2 separate regions of the Homo sapiens genome follow, and region 1 is linked to region 2. Evidence: promoter capture Hi-C in human tissues and cell types (Jung and others, 2019). All regions are on one chromosome and are shown on one strand. Each heading gives the region's core, a stretch centred on a gene start or on the middle of the fragment in contact. The rest is flanking DNA. Distances are from core to core; before and after follow the strand shown. Region 1 has its middle 13 kb from the start of PTPN2. Region 2 holds the start of SPIRE1 (spire type actin nucleation factor 1).

Evidence for each region. Contacts are between HindIII fragments. The study calls those that stand out against the background at their distance.
Region 1: a fragment that was not itself captured here is called in contact with the fragment with the promoter of SPIRE1 in region 2 in 1 of the 25 tissues and cell types used here (psoas muscle).

The regions. Positions count from the first base shown.
Region 1 is chr18:12,895,567-12,899,535 of GRCh38, forward strand. No RefSeq gene overlaps it. Among named protein-coding and RNA genes, the nearest start is that of PTPN2, 13 kb to the left of the region's middle. The HindIII fragment of the contact is 3,045 bases long and covers 665-3,709 here.
Region 2 is chr18:12,655,193-12,659,509 of GRCh38, forward strand. It overlaps SPIRE1 (spire type actin nucleation factor 1), which reads right to left and starts at 2,915. Exons shown (of 17, transcript NM_001128626.2): 1 at 2,338-2,915. The coding sequence starts at 2,674. It also overlaps a transcript of PSMG2 not described here. RefSeq lists silencers at 2,335-2,454, 2,645-3,064, 2,934-3,102, 3,105-3,174, 3,225-3,374. The HindIII fragment of the contact is 13,339 bases long and covers 1-4,317 here.

The DNA of each region.
Region 1 (3,969 bases), core at 937-3,436, 240 kb after region 2:
TAGAGAGGGGATCTTGCCGTGTTGCCCAGGCTGTTCTTGAACTCCTGGACTCAAGTCATCCACCTGCCTTGACCTCCCACAGTGCTGGGATTACAGGTGTGAGCCACTGTGCCCAGCCAGATATTTTTATAGCTTTTGAAATCCACTGTTAAATTGCTGTATGAAAGAATAGAATCAATGTAATGCTATAGGCAGCGATTTAGAACTATATGTTTGCCCACATCCCTATGAACCCTCCCAACTTGGCCTCCTGGAGTGCTGGAATTAAAGGCATGAGCCACCGTGCTTGGCCTGGTTCCTTTTTATCCACAACTACTTCCCACTTCTTACTATTTTATGCTTATGTGCATATCAGGCTGCTTCTGAAATGAAATACTATTATGTTAATAAAAAACACAAAAGAATTGATATTGTTGCAAAAACATACTTTCTCCCAGGTGAAACAGAGTCCAGACAGTTTTAATTAACATTTCTTTGACTAGAAAAATTTACATGAAGTATATTGTATATTCTTGTTATGAGGAGACACATTCAAATCCCTGAATCTTAATTAGTTCATAGCCATATGAATGATCATCTCTGAGCACCTTTCACTTTCCGCTCTGGGGCTTCTCTGATGCTGTGACTTGCAACACCTAAACGAACACACAATTCACTGAAACATTCTTAACTCAGATGTGCAGAGGAGTTAGCACCAGTGGCACCACTCTTTTTTTTTTTTTTTTCTGTGCACATCCACCTTTAATAGCTTCTTCCGTCACTCTTTAGATCCAATTACTAAAGTCTTATTGAATCCAAAATAGATCACATCATTTACCTGTAAAGAGGAAAAATACCCTAAAAACATTTGTGGAAAAGGTTAAAAATTGTAAGCCATACTAACGATTTGTAAGAACTTTAGAATTTTTTTTTTTTTAAGCAAAGGCAGCTACCAAAGTGTTCTGGGCGGGGTGGGGGGGGGGGCGAGGGAGGTGAGTATGAGTGGAGTTGGACCCTTATAAAGGGACAGCGACAAACACCTCATACTCAAAACAAGGGGACTTCCCCTGTCATTTGCGCCGTCGGGCCACTGCAAATGTCCGTGCTGAGATGCCTACGTTGTCACTCGACACAGCCGCCAAAGCTCACCCGGAGCTGCGTCAGTCCCCACTGGGTTCCTCCAGGCCAAGGAGGTACGACCTCCGCCGCAGCATATAAAGTAAATGTCCAGGACATGGGAAGAAACCCGCCGATACAGCACCCGGGTGCCCAAGCCCCCGAGAACTAGGCCGCGCGGGTACTACGGGGCCAGAAAGCCCGGGCCAGGGCGGGCCCACGAGCGAGCACCGTCGGGAACAAACCGGGAGAAAGAGGAAGAGCCGGCGCCAAAGGTATCCCGCCCACCGCGGTCCCCCCAGAACTCTTCCTGCGCTTGCAAGCGCCACGCTGCCCACAGGACTGCGCCAGCCGGCCGGCGCCTCAACAGAGCGCGCCAGGGAGCAGCGCCCGTCGGGAGCCAAGACGCCTGAGCCATCGAGGCCGCCGCCGGGCCAGGTCGAGGCCGCCGCCGCCGCCGCCGCCGCCGCCGCCGCGGCACCACTCTTAACCGATGTTGATTTCCCCTTTCACACCCCAGGAAGGCAATTATTTGATTTTTTTTTGTTTTGCTTTTGTTTTGTTTTGTTTTGAAACAAGGTCTTGCTCTGTTGCCCAGGCTGGAGGGCAATGGTGTGATCATGGCTCACTGCAGCCTTGACCTCCCGGGCTCAAGTGATCCTCCCACCTCAGCCTCCTGAGTTGCTGGGACTAGGTGCATGCCAACATGTCCAGCTAATTAAAAAAAAGTTTTTTTGTAGAGATAAGGTCTCACTATATTGCCCAGGCTGGTCTTGAACTCCTGAACTCAAGGGATCTTCCTGCCTCAGCCTCCCAAAGTGCTGGGATTATAAATGTGAGCCACTGCACCGAGCCTCCAGGTGGCCGATTCTCGGATGCATTTCTCATGGCTCCTTAGAAAGTCCCAGTGGGGGCCGGGCGTGGTGACTCATGCCTGTAATCCCAGCACTTTGGGAGGTCAAGGCGGGTGGATCACCTAAGATCAGGACTTTGAGGCCAGCTTGACCAACATGGTGAAACCCCATCTCTACTAAAAATACAAAAATTAGCTGGGTGTGGTGTCAGGCACCTGTAATCCCAGCTACTTAGGAGGCTGAGGCAGAAGAATCTCTTGAACCCAGGAGGCGAAGGTTGCAGTGAGCCAAGATCGTGCCATTGCACTCCAGCCTGGGTGACAGAGTGAGTCTCTGTCTTAAAAAGAAAAAGAGAGAGAGAGACAGACAGACAGAGAGAGAGAGAGAGAGACAGAGAGAGAGAGAGAGAGAGAGAGAAAGAAAGAGAGAAAGAAAGAAAGAAAAGAAAGAAAGAAAGAAAGAAAGGAAGAAAGAAAAAGTAAGTCAGTCTCAGTGTGAACAAGCGTCATTTGTGTCTGGTGATGGACGTGACAAGGCTTTCTTATGTTTGCTTTTCCTCCTCACCTGTTCATCCTCCTTCCCTGCACTGCTGCTCTCTAGAAGCGCTTTCCCAAATAAAGTCCTTGCAACAAGCCTTGGTCTCAGGGTCTGCTTTCAGGGAACTCAGGCTAAGGTAATTAGTCACAGACATGGGCCTAGGAAGCAGATTCTCAGGATGGGATTTTGGAGCTGGAAAACACAGAGCTAAGAAACACGAGGCTGGAGTGAGTGGCATCTGGTAACATCACGATTGCTAAGGATCTCACCCTGGTGGCTTGGGATGAGGTGCAGGTGGAAGGTAAAGCACTGGGCATGTGGCAGCTCTGACACCTAAGTGGTATTGGGGCGAGGGGAACTATAACGATTTTGGAGGTTCCTGGTCTTTGTTAAATGCTCTGGACGTCTTGAAAAAAAAGTCAAACAGGTTTCCACCTGCAACTGTCAGCTTGAGGCAGGTTGTGGAAGCAAAGCGGCTCCATAACTGCATTCATGGAGACGCTCATTTTATTCGTAGAATGTGTGGATGAAAATCAGGCACAGCACTGTGTTATTAGGAAAACAGAGATGCAAAGGAGCATGAATGCATAGCCATAAATGGTCTCGTCCTCAAATCATTGACTTGAGAAATACCTGGGTGGACTTGGACCAGCCTGAGAACCTTGCAACCCCAGGTTTTTTTGGCTCCCCCAGGCCAGCAGATGTGCGCCCCCATTCTTACTAGATTCACAGAAGCCCTCACATGAGAAAGTGTCTCAAAGGGCAAGGAAACTCAGTTTTAGCCACTAACTCCCCAAAAGCAACCCCTGCCACCACTTGTTACCTCCATACTAAGAAGCAGGGTCTGATCCCAACACAGCTTAGGTAAACAGTCCAAACTCCAGGCAGAAATCTTATATATCCTAAGAATTGTAAGACCTGTCTAATGTGGACCAACAGGAAGGAGAGGAAAATGGGCAATTATAAAGCTTAAGATGTTGGGCCAAGGAAGATGCAAATATAAGGATGGGTAGAGAAGGATTTATTGATATAGGAATATACCCCTTGGTTTGGGAGTCCTAGTCAGGGCATCTGAATCCACTTCTCATCCACTGCTCGGATAGTTTCCTGAAGCTTGGGCAGGAAGATGACCTACAATGAATGAGGTGAGGATGCTTTAATTTCCTTGGCAGAATACTAGACGAGCTCAGGGAAATTAGACATTAGAATAGGCTTAGTATGTGGTATCAGAGAACCCACTTCCCGGCTGTGTTCTTTGGGAAGACTCAGAGGAGACTCCCTTCATAAAGCACAAAGACCCACTGGTGAGGGAGGCATGACCATCTTTGAGAAGCTTGGTAGGAATTGTCCTTTGTAGGCCAGAGCCGGCCAGTGGAAGATCCTGCCAATGGATGCCAGGTATCAATGGGCATGACGGGATTCTGAAATCGCAGAGAGGAGGCAGCAGCAGAAGGGGAATGAAGTTAGTATCATGGGCAGCAAG
Region 2 (4,317 bases), core at 1,665-4,164:
TCAGCAGCCTGGGCAATACAGCAAGACCCTGTCAAAAAAAAAAAAGAAGAAAAGAAAAAGAGAGAGAGAGAGAGAAAGAGAAAGAAATAAAGCGAAAGAAAGAAGGAAGGAATAGAATTTTTAAGTGTGCACACCACCAAATTATTCATCAAGTGTAAGAATCAAGATAAAATCTTCAGAAGACTGTATCTTCCTGAGCCACGCAACTATTCTTAAAGCCAATGAGGAAATAAACTAATGTTTTAGTATGAACTTCTTAAATAATTTTAGGCAACAGAAAATGCTCAAGTCTCTATCAACAACTTTGATTAGGCCTCCTCCATAACTGGTAGCGCAGGTCATGAGCAGAACTGAGAAAGAGAATTATAAACCTATTGCGAATTGTGGAGAACAACTCCACTCACTATTTTCTCCATAAAGGCAGTTTATTACACTGAGATCAACATGTTATCACTCACACTAGTGATGTAAAAAATAATCCAATTCAACATAAGATTCAGACCAAAAAAAAAGAAAAAACCCATCCACGAGAATCTATCAATCTTTGACAACAAAACTACACGATTTTGGGATTAAATTTAAGTGACAAGACAATGTAAACTGGGGGCTTGTTCTCTCCGGAAATCACCACTACCAACGCTGCTTCTAAAAGCAGGCTGCACACAACCATTTTTCCTCTGGAAATAGCTAAATCCCAAGGCACGATATTGCTGTATTTTTTTTTGAGACGGCGTCTCGCTCTGTCACCCAGGCTGGAGTGCAGTGGCGCGATCTCAGCTCACTACAGCCTCCACCTCCCAGGTTCAAGCAATTCTCCCACCTCAGCCTCCCGAGTAGCTGGTATTCCAGCGGCACAACACCACGCCCGGCTAATTTTTGTATTTTTAATAGAGACGGGGTTTCACCATGTTGGCCAGGCTGGTCTCGAACTCCTGACCTCAGGTGATCCACCTGCCTCGGCATCCCAAAGTGCTGGGATTACAGGCTTGAGCCACCGCACCTGGCAGACATTGCTGTATTTTATAAATGTATCTTTTGTACCATTTAATACACTATAAATTATAATTGCAAGTATTTCCCACTAAGATTAAGTCCAAGTTTAAAAGCAATAAGCCCATCAAAGAAACAAAAATACTATTTGAAATAGTTTCAAAAGAACAATTAAAAAGATGGCTTTAAATAAAAAATCGTTTACCTGACGCTAAAAAATAAAAGATAAAAGCATGTAAATAAAAATGTGTTTACCTGACACTAAAAAATAAAAGATAAAAACGTTCTGGTGGAACTGAAAGAATAACTATAACCTTGAATATTGTTTTAATCAAGTTAGACAAGGGTTTTCATTAAATGTCATTTTACTAATTCGAAATTACATCTTTCACCTTAAGCATTTTGACATTTCCATCAACTTTCTAAAAGTGAGGGTAGATTGTTTTTCTATGTTTTTAATAGACTTGCCTCTCAAAAGAATGAATTAGATAAAAACTGATGGGAGAAACCTTTTCTCAACCTCCTCCTCCTCTTCAATGAGCATCTGAGTAAACCCTGGCTATAAATTACTGTTTAGGTCATAATCCTGAAAATTTTACATTAGACAATGACGTAACTAAGGCCCATTTTCTCTTTGTATCCCGACATCCTGTCAACTTTTCACTTTACAAGCCTGTTTTTCATCACAACAAATTTTCACATACAGGAATGCAATCAGTATTTTCTAACGTCCAGGAGCCAAAAATCACTATTTAGTCTATTTTTCCATTTCTCCCCAAAGAGCAGAATTCTCACGGTTCAGAATCATCTTTACATTTCCGAACCGAGGAAAGGCTGTCTAATGTGGAATACTGCTAGTTTCCCGTGAGGAGTGCGGTGTTTCCGACAGCGGCACTGAGGATCCGTGCGGAGCCCCCGCGTGAAGCCTGCGATGCCCTCCCCACCCCGTGAACCCGGCCGTGTGTCAGCAGCCACGGCGTGAGGCGCACAGGCCGCTGGCCCGGAGCAGGGCCCAGCCCACCGCTCCCAAACGCGCCGCGGGCAGCTGTCCCGCGGGCAGCACAATGACGAGCGCCCCGCGGCCCGCAGGCCCAGGCCCACCCAAACGTCCTCCGCACAGCGGATTTGCGCCGTCGCCCGCCACGAGGCTCTGACCTCCGAGGGGCCCCGGCCAGCCACGGCCTGACGCCGTCCTCCCCTGCGGGTCCCCGCCGGATCCTCCCGGGGGTCTCCCGTGGCAAAATGGGGGGGGACGGCGGGGGCGGAAGGGCCGGGGACGCTGAGGGTAAGGCGGCCCAGCCGCGGGTGTTCCAAGAACTACGAGGGAAAGGGGCCCGGCGGCCTCACCCGCAACTGGGGGCGGCTCTCCCGCGTCGTCGGCCGCGGGCGCCAGGGTGACGGCGCCGTCCCTCCAGACGCGGATCTGCGCGGCCGAGCGCACACGGTGGCGGGGCTGGCGGCGGCGGGCGGCGGCGCGCAGGGAACCGCAGCACTGGTAGCACACGGCCCACGCCTGCTCCTCGTTGATGGGCTGGTTGTACAGCCGCAGGATCTCCTCCAGGCTCAGCGCGTCCCGGGAGCCCCCGGCCGCGCCGCCGGCTGCCCCGGGCTCCCGCGGCCCCTCGCCGCCCACTGCCTCAGTCCGCGGCTCCCCGCCGCCCGCCGGGCCAGCCGCCTGAGCCATCCCGCGGGTGGGCGCTGCGCTCGGCAGTCGCGCCGTGTGCCGGCGTCTCCTCAGCTCCGGAGCATCGTCGTCGCGCGCCGCCGCCTCACCATCCCCGGAACCGCCGCCGCCCAACGCGGCCGCGCGCGCCGCCGCCGGGACCAGGCGAGTGCCCGGGAGGCGTGGGCAAGAGGAGGGCGGCGAGGACACGGCTGCAGTCCCGGTCAGACAGCCGCCGGCCGGTAGCGACGCGATGGCGTCCGGCGCCCCGCCCCGCCCCGCCCCGCCTCGCGCCGTCCAGCGCCGCCCAGCGCCCGCCCCTTAGGGGGCCGCACGGGCCGGGGGATGCACGCTCTGGAGGTGAGGACCAGGCAGGAGGGCCTCGCCTCGAGGCGAGATGGCCGCACGGTCTCTAGCCCGCAGGGCTCTCAGAGTCGCAGGCGGTGACGCCCGGTCGGGGGGCCCGGTCGCAAGGGACACACAGCTGGGGGCGCAATGGTGAGGGCGGCGACGCACGGTCCGGAGGGGATGCGCGGCCGGGTAGGGCGTGCAGGGTTGTGGGGCGTGGGGGACACGCGGGGCCGGGCGCGCGGTCGGGGGGCGCAGGGGCAAGAGGGTGTCGCATTTATCAGGGAAGTCCCCGGCCGACTCTGGCGGGGAACTGGGCGCGCCAACCCGGGTCACCGCCCTGCACAGCGGGAGAAGTCACCCGCATTGACGTTCCCTAGGCGCTGGATCGCCGAAGGTCTGGTTGAAAACTTGAACCCGCCTGGAGCGGATGCCTAAGAAAATGCAGGCCCGCTGAAGCCTCCCCGCCGGGCCCTGGGCCCTGAAAGCCTCCGGCAGTTTCCCGTGACCCCGCGGCCGCTCTGCGCGTTTTCCGATTTCTTGCTGGTTGAATACCTCCCTCTCCACTCCCATCTTCAGGGTAAGCACCGTAAAGACGGGGATCTTTACGGGTTTTCCTCACTGACTTCTCCCAAAAGCTAAACCAGCGCCTGGAATATAAACATGTACATAATTTGCAGGTGTTAGTTTTAGCGTCCTTCCGGATTCATTTGTAACATTGGTCCCTTCCCTCACTAAGGTAATGTCTCAAGTACCACACTCATCAGAGCATGTGGAATGAATATCACAGTGGTAAAATTGAACTGAGGGCAATTAGCCGTAGAAAGAAAGAATTCCGCCCCCCCAACCTATTAAATATGCAATAAAACAGATAATTCTTAATCACCCATTGGTAGATTAATTTAATCGATAAAATTCCACTGAGGCTAGTCCTGTGTGAAAGCCCTACAGAGTGTTGAAAGCATCAACCAAATAGGCAATGTATATTAAGTTCCAGTAAACCTTTTACGGCAGTTTTATGTAAAATGTTAGAAATCACGCTCTCAACAATTGCATCTTGCGGTAGAAACTACAACAGTCTATTTAAATAACAACAGTCTATTAAAATGAGATACCATCTTACATACAGCTGGGAATGGGGAGGAGGGAGAAAAGCAACAGGACGAAAAGGAAAATTAAGAAATTGAAAGAGGGCCGTGCGCAGTGGCTTAGGCCTGTAATCCCAGCACTTTGGGAGGCTGAGGCGGGCAGATCACTGAGGTCAGGAGTTCGAGACCAGCCTGGCCAACATGGGGAAACCCTGTCTCTACTAAAAA